Linked DNA regions of Homo sapiens: regions 2 and 3 are each linked to region 1. Evidence: promoter capture Hi-C in 16 types of primary human blood cells and fetal thymus (Javierre and others, 2016). All regions are on one chromosome and are shown on one strand. The core of a region is centred on a gene start or on the middle of the fragment in contact, and the rest is flanking DNA. Distances in the headings are between cores, read along the strand shown.

Region 1 (4,311 bases), core at 853-3,352:
AAAGAAATCTCTAAATACAGTTTTCAGTTTCCACCCAGCTTCTGCAGAAGCAGGCTTTTGATATGGAAAGAACAGATTCCCAGGCAAACTCCCTGCCTGAGTTACTTTATTAGCTGTTATCCCTGCATTATTTTTAAACCCCTTGCTTGTCAGGCAGTCTCTGGTGAACCATGGCTGACTGAAGAATGACCTCAAACCAGAATGGCTCAAGTTTTAGGAAACACTAACTCATAATAAACAAAACTTTGAAAATAAGCCAAGATAAATATCTATTCCCAAACTCATAAAAACATTTTTAACATGCACTTCTTAAGAATGTTACAGAAAGAAATTCCTTTCTTAGGGTTCTTCCACAAGACCTTTCCTCTGGAGAACGGAGTAGCAATTAGTAACTGGTTAATAAACAAGTTACATTCTAGACCCTCTGCCAAGGGGTTATCTGATTGCAATTACTGACTTGAGGGAACAGCCATTAACAGCAGCAGTTCAGCAGTGCTTGGGCCGGGCGCTGTGGCTCATGCCTATAATCCCACCACTTTGGGAGGCCGAGGTGGGCGGATCACTTGAGGTCAGGAGTTCGAGACCAGCCTGGCCAACATAGTGAAACCCCATCTCTACTAATAAATAAATAAATAGATAAATAGCTGGGAGTTCCGGCGGGTGCCTGTAGTCCCAGCTACTCGGGAGACTGAAGCAGGAGAATCGAGGAGAATCGCTGGAACCTAGGAGGCGGAAGTTGCAGTGAGCTGAGATCCAGCCACTGCACTCCAGCCTGGGCAAGAGTGAAACTCCGTCTCAAAAAAAGCAGAGCTTGCCAGGGGAGAAGAGTCTCTCCCATCAGAATCCTACCTCTTTTTTTGTTTTGTTTTGTTTTGTTTTAAACGTTTTTTTCTTTGTTAATGGTTCCATGGCTACCTCCGGAAGAAATGGTGAGACCTGCTTAAGTAGTGATGGCCCACCAGGGTTGCAAAGTGAAGTTAAGTCAGGTGCTTAACAAGAGGAGGCTGCTTCTAACCATGCCTCCCCCTTAGAGAGTTTCTAACACCCCAACCACTGGCCCCACCTGTGGACAGCCCATTCCTCCCTCTAAACGCACAGGTCGGTTTAGATGCCTTGCTCAGACCCCTGCGCCCAGCATGGGCGCCCTACGTGCTGTGCCCACTGGGGTGGTCTCACGGGTGGGGGTGAGCTGTTTGCCCCTGGCGGTTCTTACCTGGACGCCCCCGGGAGTATCCTGGATCTGCAGGGAGAGCTGGTCCCCCTCGACATAGACCAGCCGTGAATACAGCTTGCCTGGAGAATGAAGTAGAGTTTGCTTTTTAATTCTCAAACTCCCATCCGTAAAAAGAAACACGCAAGCATAAAAGCAGGGAGCGTGAAAGTATTCTCACCTGTATTCGGTTCATAGTCTCCAATGAATCTCTTGGTCAGGAAGCGCACGATCATTGCTGAAAAGGAAATAGGAAAATCAACCGAAGGAGTAGAACAAGCCTGTCAAACCCAGGCACCTCGGACAAACTGGGGGGAGTGAAGGGTGCAGAACCGTGGGCACTGCTCGCTTCCAGAGGCTCCGCAAAGCCGTGGTGCCGCGGGCTTGGCCGCGAGTACGACTGGCGGGACACCTCTCCCGCACCCCATCCCCGAACAGGCGCCAATCCCGCCGAGATCCCAGGAGTAGATGCACCAGGAAACGCCAGGGAAGCAGGCCGGGACGGACCGGGACCCACCCAGCGCGAAAGCAGCCCGATTCTACCTGCACCCGCGCCCTCTGCTTCGGCCGAGGCGCCCTCTCTCCGCAGCGCCCCCAGTGGTCGCGGCCGGAGCCGGGGAGCGAAGCCGCCCGGGGGTCCCCGCCGCACTCACCGCTCTTGCCCACGCGGCCGGCGCCCAGCACCGCCAGTTTGATGTCCTTGGGCAGTAGGTAGTCCGAGGAGGACTCGGGGATGGGTGCGAGCAGAAAGTGCCCGGACATGCTGAGCGGCCGCATGGAGCGCGTCCCGGGGTCCGGCGCGCAATCCGAGAGGGCTGGGCCTCGCCGCACCCGGAGCCGGCTCGCCAGCTGGGAGTGCGGGACTAGAGGTCCGGGACCGCGGCGGCTGCCTGCAGAACTGTCAAGGCCCGCGGCTTTTAAAGGGCTTGGTGCGCCCGGGAGCGCGGCGGCCGTCCCAGCTCCTCCTCGTCTCCGCCCCTTCCCGGAGCGGCCGGGAGGGGCGGGAGCAGAGGCCGCGGAGCTGACTATCGCCGAGGCTGTGCGCTTCGCCGGGCTGCTAGCTGCTCGCGGCTCCAGGCGCTCTGCGGCAGGACTGCGGCTCCGGGGCTCAGACCCTGGAGATACGGCCACCGTCCAGAGCGCGCGAGTGGCCTCTAGTCAGGCATTCTGCGAGTCTCCTCGCCCCGCAGCAGCCAGCCGGAGTCACTAGACCTGTGGGTGAACTTGAGATAGGAGTTACGAGTTGACGAGAGAAGAAGAAAAAGTGCAATCAGTTGGATGTTTCTGCAACAATGGGACAGATTGCTGTAAAACGCTGCCCTTTTTATTTTTAAAAGGTGCTAAGGGGCTGGGCGCGGTGGCTTACGCCTGTAATCCCAGCACTTTGGGAGGCCCAGGTGGGCAAGATCATCTGCGGTCAGGAGTTCAAGACCAGCCTGGCCAACATGGCGAAACGCTGTCTCTACTAAAAATACAAAAATTAGCGGGGCGTGGTGGTGGGCGCCTGTAATCCCAACTACTCGGGAGGCTGAGGCAGCAGAATCGCTTGAACTAGGGAGGCGGAGGTTGCAGTGAGCCGAGATGGCACCACTGCACTCCAGCCTGGACCACAAGAGCGAAACTCCGTCTCAAAAAAAAAAAAAAAAGAAAGAAAAGAAAAGATGCTAAGGGGTAACATTAATATGGGAAAAGGGCGGGGGGCGGGGGGCAAGAGCTCTGAATTAGTATCAGTGGAGGCAACTGCAGTCACTGTGACCTTGCTAGGGATAGATGAAGTCCCCTTAGGGGCAGTGATGGTTAGCATCTCAGTATCCATGCCCAGCCCCTCCTCTGCAGGCAGGGGTTGCACTGGCTCATTCCTGAACACTCATGAGCACTCCACTGGCTGGGGGCCCTGGCCCTGCACTAAGTGTCCATCATTAATACTATCCTATGTGCTTGAGTCATGCATTTGCTTCAGTATCCAAATATTTACTTCTAGGTGCATGGTGGGGTCTAGGGTGGGGTGGGGGGCAGTGTGAGGAACAGGACACAGAGCTATAGACTGGTTCTTGGATTTCTGGAGCCCACCAGAAATAGCACAGCAGAAGCCTCAGGACTTTAACCTTGAACAGTTAGAAGACCTTCATGCCTCTGACCTCCTGTGTTCCAGCCTCACTTGCCTAATCGCCTATTAGACAGCCCCACCCTAATTCATACCTTTCTCTACCCTGGTTGTACCAGTTTTTGCTGCATGACAAGCCACACCAAACTAGATGGCTTAGAACAACAATCACTTACAGTTGTTGAGCCCTTTGATGCATCTGCAGGGAGCTTCCAGGTTCTGGAAGTGGGGGCTGGCTGCCCTTGGATAGCCTTACTCATGTCTGGCAGCTGTTGGCTGTGATGAGGGAGGGTAGTGACTGAGTTACATGTCTCTTCTCATTCAGCACGTTGGCCAGGGCCTGCCTTCATGGTAGCTGAGCAGAGTTCCAAGAGAGTGGGTGGAAATGGATAAGGCCTCTTGAGACCTAGGCCTTGAGAAGGAACCCATCCCTTCTGCTGCATTCTGTTGGCCAAAGCAAGTCATGGGGCCAGCCCATATTCAAGGAGTAGGGAAATACACTCCGCCCCTTTGTGGAAACAGCAGAAAAGTCACGTGTGAAAGGGCAAGGAAGCAGAGAGTGATGGAGAATGGGGTCCATTTTTGTAATTGACCATGCTAATGAATGTGTCTCCATCCACCCAGTGGCCCAAGCCTGGGAGACATCCTTGACTCTACCCACTCTCTCACTTCCACATTGATTAATCGCCAAGTTCCATCATTTCTCCTCCTATATTTCTTGGTGTCTCCCTCTGTATCCCTACTGCTCTCATTTCTTTTTTTTTTTTTTTTTTTGAGACGGAGTCTCGCTCTGTCGCCCAGGCTGGAGTGCAGTGGCGCAATCTCGGCTCACTGCAAGCTCCGCCTCCCGGGTTCACGCCATTCTCCTGCCTCAGCCTCCCAAGTAGCTGGGACTACAGGCGCCCGCCACTACGCCCGGCTAATTTTTTGTATTTTTAGTAGAGACGGGGTTTCACCGTTTTAGCCGGGATGGTCTCGATCTCCTGACCTCGTGATC
Region 2 (4,311 bases), core at 1,727-4,226, 350 kb before region 1:
CCCCAGTTCACTGCTGTCTTCCAGTTTCCTTCCACTCACCCATTCTGCACACAGGCATGGGACAAAAAAAAAAAAAAAAAAAAAAACTAAAACTTTACGGCAGTTCTAGCTCAAGAATCTTTAACAGCTCTCTTACACTGGAAAAAAGGAAACCATTTATTCCTGTTATTAATCATAAGCCGCCAATTCTTATTTGCCATCTTCACTGGCCAACAGAATGAGTGCTCATGAAAGAATAGATGTTTCAGCAGTGCCTTTCACCCATCCCATTCTGAATTCATCACATAATACTCCACACTGCACATTCGGGCACTTCATTGTCAATACAATTGGTTTTCTTTTTCATGTGTACAGCTCTTGTCTGCCTTCTCCAAAACCACAGAAGGGTTTTCAGGACAGACTCATAGTCTCTTATTTCCACCATTTCTCAGGACTGTGCTACTATTAGGTACATACTTACTGTATAGTTAAATAATTAGAGATCTAATAATCCAAGTTTGAGAAGAATTTCATCATGAGAAAAAAAAAAAAACCAGACCCACGCAGTAACTGTACCAGGATAGTTTATAAAGCAGGAAAAGAAAATAGCAACATTAAGAATTTGAGCAAGAAAAGGCTGGGTTTGGGGGTCTTAATAAGTACTTGAAAGCAGATGGGTAGATTTGGGTAAACTTCCTAAGAGACCAGTTTAAAGGTTGTTACAAAGAATGACTCTAAATTACGCTAACCAAAAAGAAGACTTTTGTCTAGTGATCTGGAGACCATCTAAAATCTGAATAACGTGTTTAAGGGAAACTAAAAGAAGAGTGGGGAGTGGTAGGCCACGGAACTTGATATGCTTTCCTATCTCTTGAGATGCAAGACACTCTTTGGGTCAGTACTGAAGAGACCACTTTGTAGACACCTTTCCATCTCTCGAGATTCTGTGTGAACCTGTGCATTATGCCAACTAATTAGAGTACTTAGATGTTACAGCTATATGCAATTTGTAAATAATTAGCTTGTAAAGTACTTTGAAAATAGAAAGTACCAGCAAGTACTCAGAATTACTACATGTTAAAAGCCTTTGGTATATATTTAATAATCAGCTTTTTAAAAGTCACAGTACTTTACAGCTGAAGAGAATTTCTGATCTTGAATCACTGGCATGAGTTTATTTAGAATGAAATGCTATTGGAGTGCAAATCAGATGCGGATTAACTTTTCACAGGATGTATAAGATTCACATTCATCTCCCTAGTCCTTTTTGGACCAACTCAGCTTTCCCTCAGGTCCCTACAGACTTTATGCAGATTCCTTTCACATATACAAGACTCTTGGTTAACCTGCCTGCCCCCTTCTCAGTTTCTTCCCTCCACCCAACTGCCTTCTGCAGGTGTTTTGTATGAACCCGTGAGTTTATGGTCACCCTAAAGACATTCAAGACTGCATTCTACGTGATCAGTCTAAATTCTTTTAGGTGCAATGAAGTTGTGATGTGGTGAGCGGTCGCCTCTGGCTGTGTTTCCCACTGTACTTCATCTACTATCATCAGTCTGTACCTTGATGTCCACTAATTAAACTTTGTTTTCATCTCCTGACAGGCCTTGGTTTAGAGGAATTAAACTCCAGGTAAGTAATTCTGTTTACTATCCCCACAGGCAAAGTTTTGGGAGAGGAAAAAAGTTTTTAATCCTTTTCCACATCCTTTTTGAGCTTCCTTTTATCTTCAAAGGCTAATGCCCTTAAACAAACATTGACTTTCCAGAATTTCTTACTGTCACCATAAGAGAATATGCTGTATCCTTGCCCTATGACATCCCTGCTCCCGCCTAAACTCACCTCTTCCAATGTCTTCATGTGATTCTTTTATTGGAAAACCAAACTAAGCCATTCCTCTGTATAATGAGTGGTAATGTTTACTCTTCTTAGGCAGTAAACTAATGCTGTTACTGCCTAGTGACCTCCACGTTAACTCCAGGTGACATTTTTCTATTCCCTATTTGAAACCCTTGGCTTCCACACCCTATTTTTGCACTTTCCTACCATTACATTGACCCAAACTTACAAATACTCTTATCTTTAACTCTTCTTTGACCCAAACTTTAAATACTGAAGTTGCCTAGGGCTTTGTTCTGGGCCCACTTCTTTGTCACCCTCTATTTTTTTTTTTTTAATCAATTTATGTCATCTTTATGGCAAGGACTCATAAAATTTGTCTCCAGCTTAGATCTCTTCCACGATCTCCAACTCACATAGCCACTGCTTACAATGTTCACAAATGAAACTTTTGACTCCTATCATCTTTTCCACCTCCCAATCTATTTTCCATTTTAAGCTTCCCAATTTCAGTAATTGGCCCCAAAGCTAGGCAGTAGTCATCTTTGATTCTTCATCTTCCACAGTTCCTGAAGTGTACCAATTCTGTGCCAATTCAATTCTAAAATATACCTCAAACCTACCTTCTCTTCTCCATCACTAGCTTCTACCCTTCCAGGCCACTTCAACTCTTTATAGTGTCTCTCTCTGCTTCTACTCCAGCCTCCCTATAATTCATCTCCCCCCACTCTGTAATCAAAGTAAAGAAGACGTCATTCCCACTGAACCTAAAATCCAAAATCCCTACTACCCCAACTCTTCCTCCCATGGACTCCAGAGGACAGGCCCTTCTCCTTGTCTACTGTGCTACAAAAACATGCAAATCTTTGTTCAATATCTTCAGTTCCTCATGCCACCAGTTTTCTGCTTTAGGACCTTTGCACATGCTATACCCCCAGAATGCATTTTCTCTCCTCTTTGCACAGCCAGCTCTCTCCCTTCCTGTAATCTCTAGAACACCTTTCCTAACTTCCGTGCCTAAAGTAGATTCCTTTCTTATGTTTTCTATCTTGACCCTACATTTGCTGCTTTTACAGAATTACAAGTTTTTAATTTTATATATTTTTTTGAGACAAGGTCTCCCTCTGTCACCCAGGCTGGAGTGCAATGGTGTGATCATGGCTCATTGCAGCCTCAACCTCCTAGGTTCAAGATATCCTCTCGCCTCAGCTTCCCAAGCAGCTGGGACTACAGGCATGTGTCACCATGCCTGGCTACCTTTTTTATTTTTTTGTAGAGACAGGGACTCCCCATGTTGCCCAGGCTTGTCTCAAACTCCTGGGCTCAAGTGATCCTCCCACCTTGGCTTCCCAGGTGTGAGCCACCATGCCGAGCCTCACAATTTTTTTTTAAGGGGCTCTTATAACACATGCTTTATGAGAACAGGACTTACTCTGTCTCATCCACTATAGCTATATATCTATCCCCAAGGCCTGGAACATACTAGTGCTCAAAAATATGGATATCTCTTTAAAGAATTTGGCTGAGTGTAGGAAATGTAGGCTCTATGGCACGCTAGTGTAAGAGGTCAGGTTTGAGTGACTGAAAAGCTGCATGCCATAACTACTTACATGAATTCATAGAGTATTTACTAAGTGTCCACTACCTGTCAGGTGTTCCAGGTACCAGAATCATGTTGACCTCCAAGTTGGTTTAGTGGGTAAACAAGATAAGCACTACCAATAGCATAGTAAATGCCAAGGCCAGGAAACACAGGGTGTAATGAAAGCACAAAGAAGTACCCAAACTAGGCTGAGAGGCCTGACACATAAGCTTTGACTTAAGAGTACGGCAGGAGTAAGACTGGCCCAGGAAGAGGGGATAGATAAACAAGGGCCCAAAGCACAGAGCACTGGCGGGTGGGATATGTGTTTTCCAAAACAGTCATTTCCCCTATATGGAATTTTCCTTCTCCTTGGCTTTACCTTCTCTCAAATAGGGCTTCTTCTACATTACCCTAGGCTATACCTACTTAAGGACTGAAAATGTTTTCTAGTCATCCCAATTTTCTCCTTCTGTAATATAATCAAAACATCTTACCTTACTTAGATCATGACTAAGTATATCCCAAAATTCAAGCAGTAAACTGGTATCTTTCCTGTAAATGCCTCAAAGATGGAGCCTTACTCCCTAAAACTCTCATGTAAAACCAGAATTCTCACACTTCTTCCAAATTATTCCCACCCTTGCCAAGTCTACCAATCACAGCAAATGATGCAATTCTTTAAAAGCCAAAAAGTTTAGCAAGAAGCCAAGTCCCCACCCCAATCTTCTTTCCTTCTGTTTTTAAACAACAATCTAACTGGGGTCATGGTTTTTGTCTCTTCCCTTACCCCCACCACTCCAACTACAGACATGGATATATACTTCTTTTAATTCCCATGATCACAGTTCTTGTCTAGGCCTCTGATATTCTCAGTTTCCTCATTTTCAATGCTGGCTTAATTAGAAAAA
Region 3 (4,311 bases), core at 1,263-3,762, 270 kb after region 1:
CCAAAATAGAGGCTGCTCCCAAAATAGAGGCAGAGAAATGCCAGGAAGTCATGGAGCTTCCCTTGCAGCTATGATATGGACATGCATCCCTGGGCACATGTCCCCGGACACAACTAACTTGAGGAGGATTCTGAGGCTTTGGGAAAGACACAGGAGACAGCAGCTGCCCACATTTGTTGGCTTGTGGCCCCTTCCTCTCATCACTCCCAACCCTGCTTCCATCACGTCTCTTTTCTCTATTTCTGAGTTTCCTGCCTCCTCATATAAGGACTCTGTGATTACATTGGGCTCACCTGGATAATGCCCCATGTCAAGGACCTAAACTCAATCACATCTGCAGAATCCCCTTTGCCATGTAAGGTGACATATTCACAGGTTCCGGAGAGTAGGAGGGGGACATCTTTGGGGGCCGTTATTCCAACTACCGCACAGGTATTTCAAACTTAACTTGTCAAAAACTTAAATCCCTTATTCCTGTCCTCTCCAAACACTATTTGTCCCCATTTTTCCATGGAATTTCTGTGGCCTCATCATCCACACAGTTGTCTAGCCCAGCAACTTGAGTGTCATCTTCAGCACCTCGTCTCTCACCTCCCACACCCTGTAGCCATCTGTGAATGTTTGCTGAGTGTCTACTGTGTGCCAGGCACTCATCTAGGCTCAGAAGACAAAGAGATGAACAGACATATGGGGTCTCTGCTTGGAGGGCAAATAAGATAATATCACTTAGTATACAGTGCTCTTAAAAAACCAGGCAGTGTGATGTATAGACTTGCTGGAGGTTACTTTAAATTTTGTGGTCAGGGGAGGTCTCTTTGAGGATGTAACATTTAATCTGGGATTTGATAAGAAGGAATCAGTCATGCAAAAGTTTCCAGGCAGTGCAGCCAAGGTTGGGGAAACAGCTTGGGCAAAAGCTCTAAAATAGGAATAAGCCTGTGTGTTTCAAATAACAGGAGAGGGTGAATGTGGCTGGAGCTCACAGGGAAGAGTGAGATGAGGCCAGAGGAGGTAGGAGAGGAGTCTCCTAGGGCCTGGGAGACCCGAGCAAGGACTTTGAATGTTACTTTCAGGATGTAAGCTTTAATCTCTCAACTCCATCTCCCTTCTGCCCTTTCAGCCTGACCAACCACCATCTCTCACTTGGACTATTGCAGCTGTCTTCTACCCAGACTCCCTCCTCCACCTTTGCTTCCTCTGACACAGTTTCCATAGAAAAACCAAAGTGATCTTTTGAAGAGGATGCAGTACTTTGGTGTATTCAACATCTTTTCCAACCTCCTCCCAGTGTGCCTTTCTCTCCTGCAGAAGCTGGAAAGGTGAGGACTGTATTTCCTAGACTCCATGAAATGTAGATTCCAACTTAGGCTCTGCTTAAGTCAAATGTAGGTGACCTGAGCTAGTGCAGAGTGAGGCAGGGAGAGTGGTGGCAGGGGGCAGGTGTTCACTTCTGCAGCTGGGTCCAGCAGGTGTGGGTCTAGGGGTCGTGGCTCCAGCAGGTGTTGGTCTAACGAGTTTGGCTCCAGTAGACGTGGGTCTAGGAGGTGTGGCTTCAGCAGGTGTGGGTCTGGCAGACGTAGCTCCAGCAGGTATGTGTTTAGCAGGTGCAGTGTAGCTCTGCAGTTGTAGTTGCAGCTGTGGCCTGTGGACACTGGACTGCTGCCTGTACGTTGTGTTCTGAGGCCAGCAGGTGCAGCTCATCTTCTGATTCCCCAGCTTCCTCACTGAAGTAGAGGTAACGGCTCCCCTGGTGAGTGAGCTCTGCAGTGACACTCTGCGAATTCCTCCTCAAGACCCAGGCCATGACCTGCTCCTCCAGCCCATCTAATGACTTGTGAGCAGATAATTCTCTGTATTAGGTGCTTTTCTTCTCAAAAAAGCAAGAGTGACTTCTTTCATGTTTTGTTGAACTCTGAATACAAAAGGCCACGCTGATCAAGTCACTTTCCAGCTCATTGACCATAGAATGATACCCAACATCCTTCATGTGCCTACTGTCCCTCGATGACTTAGACCCTTGCCTCCTTTGGGCACACATCACTCCCTTTTCTCTTCTAGTGACTCCCCCTCATCATCCAGATCACAGCCTAATGTCACTTCCCCAGAGAAGCCTCATTCTACGATTGCCAAAACCAAGCCCCACAGACCGGGTGGCACCAACAACAGGTACGAGTTTTCTCCCAGTTCCAGAGGCTGAAAGTCCAAGGTCAAGGTGTCAGCAGTGGTGGTTCCTTCTGAGGCTCTGAGGGAAGGATCTATTCCCAGCTACTCTCCTGGGCTTTTAGAAGGCCAACTTCACGTCCACACGGCTTTCTTTCTGTGTGTGTCCAAATTTCCCCCTTTTATAAGGACACCAGTCTTATTGGATTAGGGCCTGCCCTGATGACCTCATTTAACTGAGTCAATCTGCCATGACCCTACTTACAAGTCCAATTCCACTGTCAGGTGCTGGGGGTTAGGACTTCACCCTATGAGTTTGGGAGGATGCACACAGTTTATCCTCTAACAGCCAGGTTCTCAAGGTCTAACTTCTCCTCAAACTCTGCTTCTTCGTCAAAGCAGTCAATTCGGTGTGCGACGGTGCAGCTGCTGGTTGGTTAACATTTGTCCTCAGCTAGGGAGACTGTGTTGGATGATCCCCCAGTGCTTAGCACAGGGCCTCGGGCAGAGCAAGTGCTGAAGAGGTATTCGTTGGATTTGTGGATGAATGAGTTGAGGAATAAATGATTATTTCTAATAGCTGATGAAAGACCTAAAAGGCCAATGATAAGCAAGTGGCCAAATCACCCAAGACACAGTTGTTTATTACACAGCTGTTAAAATGTCTCTGAAGACTTTGTGACAATGTGGGAAAATGCTTATGATCTGACATTGAATGACATGGTAGAATACAACCGTTTATGGAATATTACATGAAAAAAGAACAGAAAAATGAGAGTCCAGTGTTGAACTCACAAAAACAAAAAATCATGTATAAATTGTGATCAGATTTTCCACATTAAATGTATTAGTTCTTCTCATTCATTAAATAAATAACTTCAGGTCAAAGCTAAAGAAAAATTAGCATCCTTAAACATTGGGATCCTATGAACTATCCTTTATTCATTTTGGAGTAAAAGATGGGATGGCAGGAAACACACAGGGCCTCATTTCTGCTTCTTTGGGCAAATCTTATTTTTAGTAACTCGCTTTGCCATTAATAAAACCACGTCTGATCATATGTAAAAATGATGTGTTTGAACTTCTTATTTTGCATACTTGCTCTTTAAAATTTTTTAAAAACATTTTTTCTTCAGAACTAATGCATGCTCATTAAAAAATTAAATATCAAAGTAAAACAAAAACTTAAAGCATCCTAAAATTGTGCCTCAAAGCCATAACCATTAATTACATTTTGGTAATATTCCTCCAGAATTTATTCTAAATATACAGATCTGTATATTTATTCTAAATATACAGATATACTAGAGTATAATACACACACACACAAGCATTATGCAGAAATGAATCCACACTCCATGAGGTCACAAACTGCTTTTTCATTTTAAGATATTTGTTGCCCATATCTGATGGTGTGGTCCGTATGCCCCCACAATCCTACTCTTTTTACCCAAGCAGCAACTCAGATGCGGAATCATCAACCTAGGGTCTGAGAGAAGCAGCTGAGATACAGGAAGGGGCCTGGCCATCTTCCCAAGGGCAGAATGAGCATGCCCTGGGTCCCCGACTGGGTCACACTCTGCTGCTCTGTGAGCTGGCTGCCTCTCTTTGTCAGGAAGACCAAGTTCACCGCCACGTGTGCTGGGGTGATTGGATGGGCCATGTGTGGCATCCTGGTTGGGTGGAAGCTGCCATGTAAGTAGTAAAAGAACAGAGCCAGAGCTGTCCTGCGCTTACTAGAGTTAAAGTCCCGCCATGTTTTGCAGAATTATCTAAAGCTTCCAAAGGTTATTGGAGTTATTTCCATTATTCAGAGCTGTGACCAAGTTTGTGAAACTGTATAACGTGGTTAAGAACATGGATTAAACATCTTTTAAGGGGCAGTGGTGTTGGCATGGGTTGTGGGTTCTGTGTGTTTGCGCATATGTGTGTGTGTGTGTGAGAGAGAGAGAGAGAGACTGTGTTTTACTAGCAATTTATAAGTTGTAGTCTCCATATTTTGTTGTAAACCCATAGTCCTTGTGTGTCCTCAAAATTTCTGAATGATCAATAGACATTGTTTCATGTTTGGTGAGTAAAAAAATTATATCTTTGAGAATTTTGATACCTCAGTACATCTGAAACATCTGAATAATACTTTGAGGTGTCTGA

What was found. The method cuts DNA at HindIII sites, captures the fragments that hold promoters and counts their contacts. A CHiCAGO score of 5 or more calls a contact.
Region 2: a fragment that was not itself captured here is called in contact with the fragment with the promoter of RASL11A in region 1 in 1 of 17 cell types (neutrophils); the score reaches 5.7 in neutrophils.
Region 3: a fragment that was not itself captured here is called in contact with the fragment with the promoter of RASL11A in region 1 in 8 of 17 cell types (megakaryocytes, erythroblasts, total B cells and 5 more); the score reaches 11.4 in megakaryocytes.

What each region holds. Positions count from the first base shown.
Region 1 is chr13:27,268,621-27,272,931 of GRCh38, reverse strand. It overlaps RASL11A (RAS like family 11 member A), which reads right to left and starts at 2,102. Exons shown (of 4, transcript NM_206827.2): 1 at 1,864-2,102; 2 at 1,392-1,448; 3 at 1,214-1,293. The coding sequence starts at 1,987. RefSeq lists silencers at 1,702-1,931, 1,972-2,191 and an enhancer at 2,140-2,640. The HindIII fragment of the contact is 11,897 bases long and covers 1-4,311 here.
Region 2 is chr13:27,623,503-27,627,813 of GRCh38, reverse strand. It overlaps a transcript of POLR1D not described here. Among named protein-coding and RNA genes, the nearest start is that of POLR1D, 3.8 kb to the right of the region's middle. The HindIII fragment of the contact is 1,313 bases long and covers 2,320-3,632 here.
Region 3 is chr13:26,999,141-27,003,451 of GRCh38, reverse strand. No RefSeq gene overlaps it. Among named protein-coding and RNA genes, the nearest start is that of USP12-AS1, 120 kb to the left of the region's middle. The HindIII fragment of the contact is 2,857 bases long and covers 1,084-3,940 here.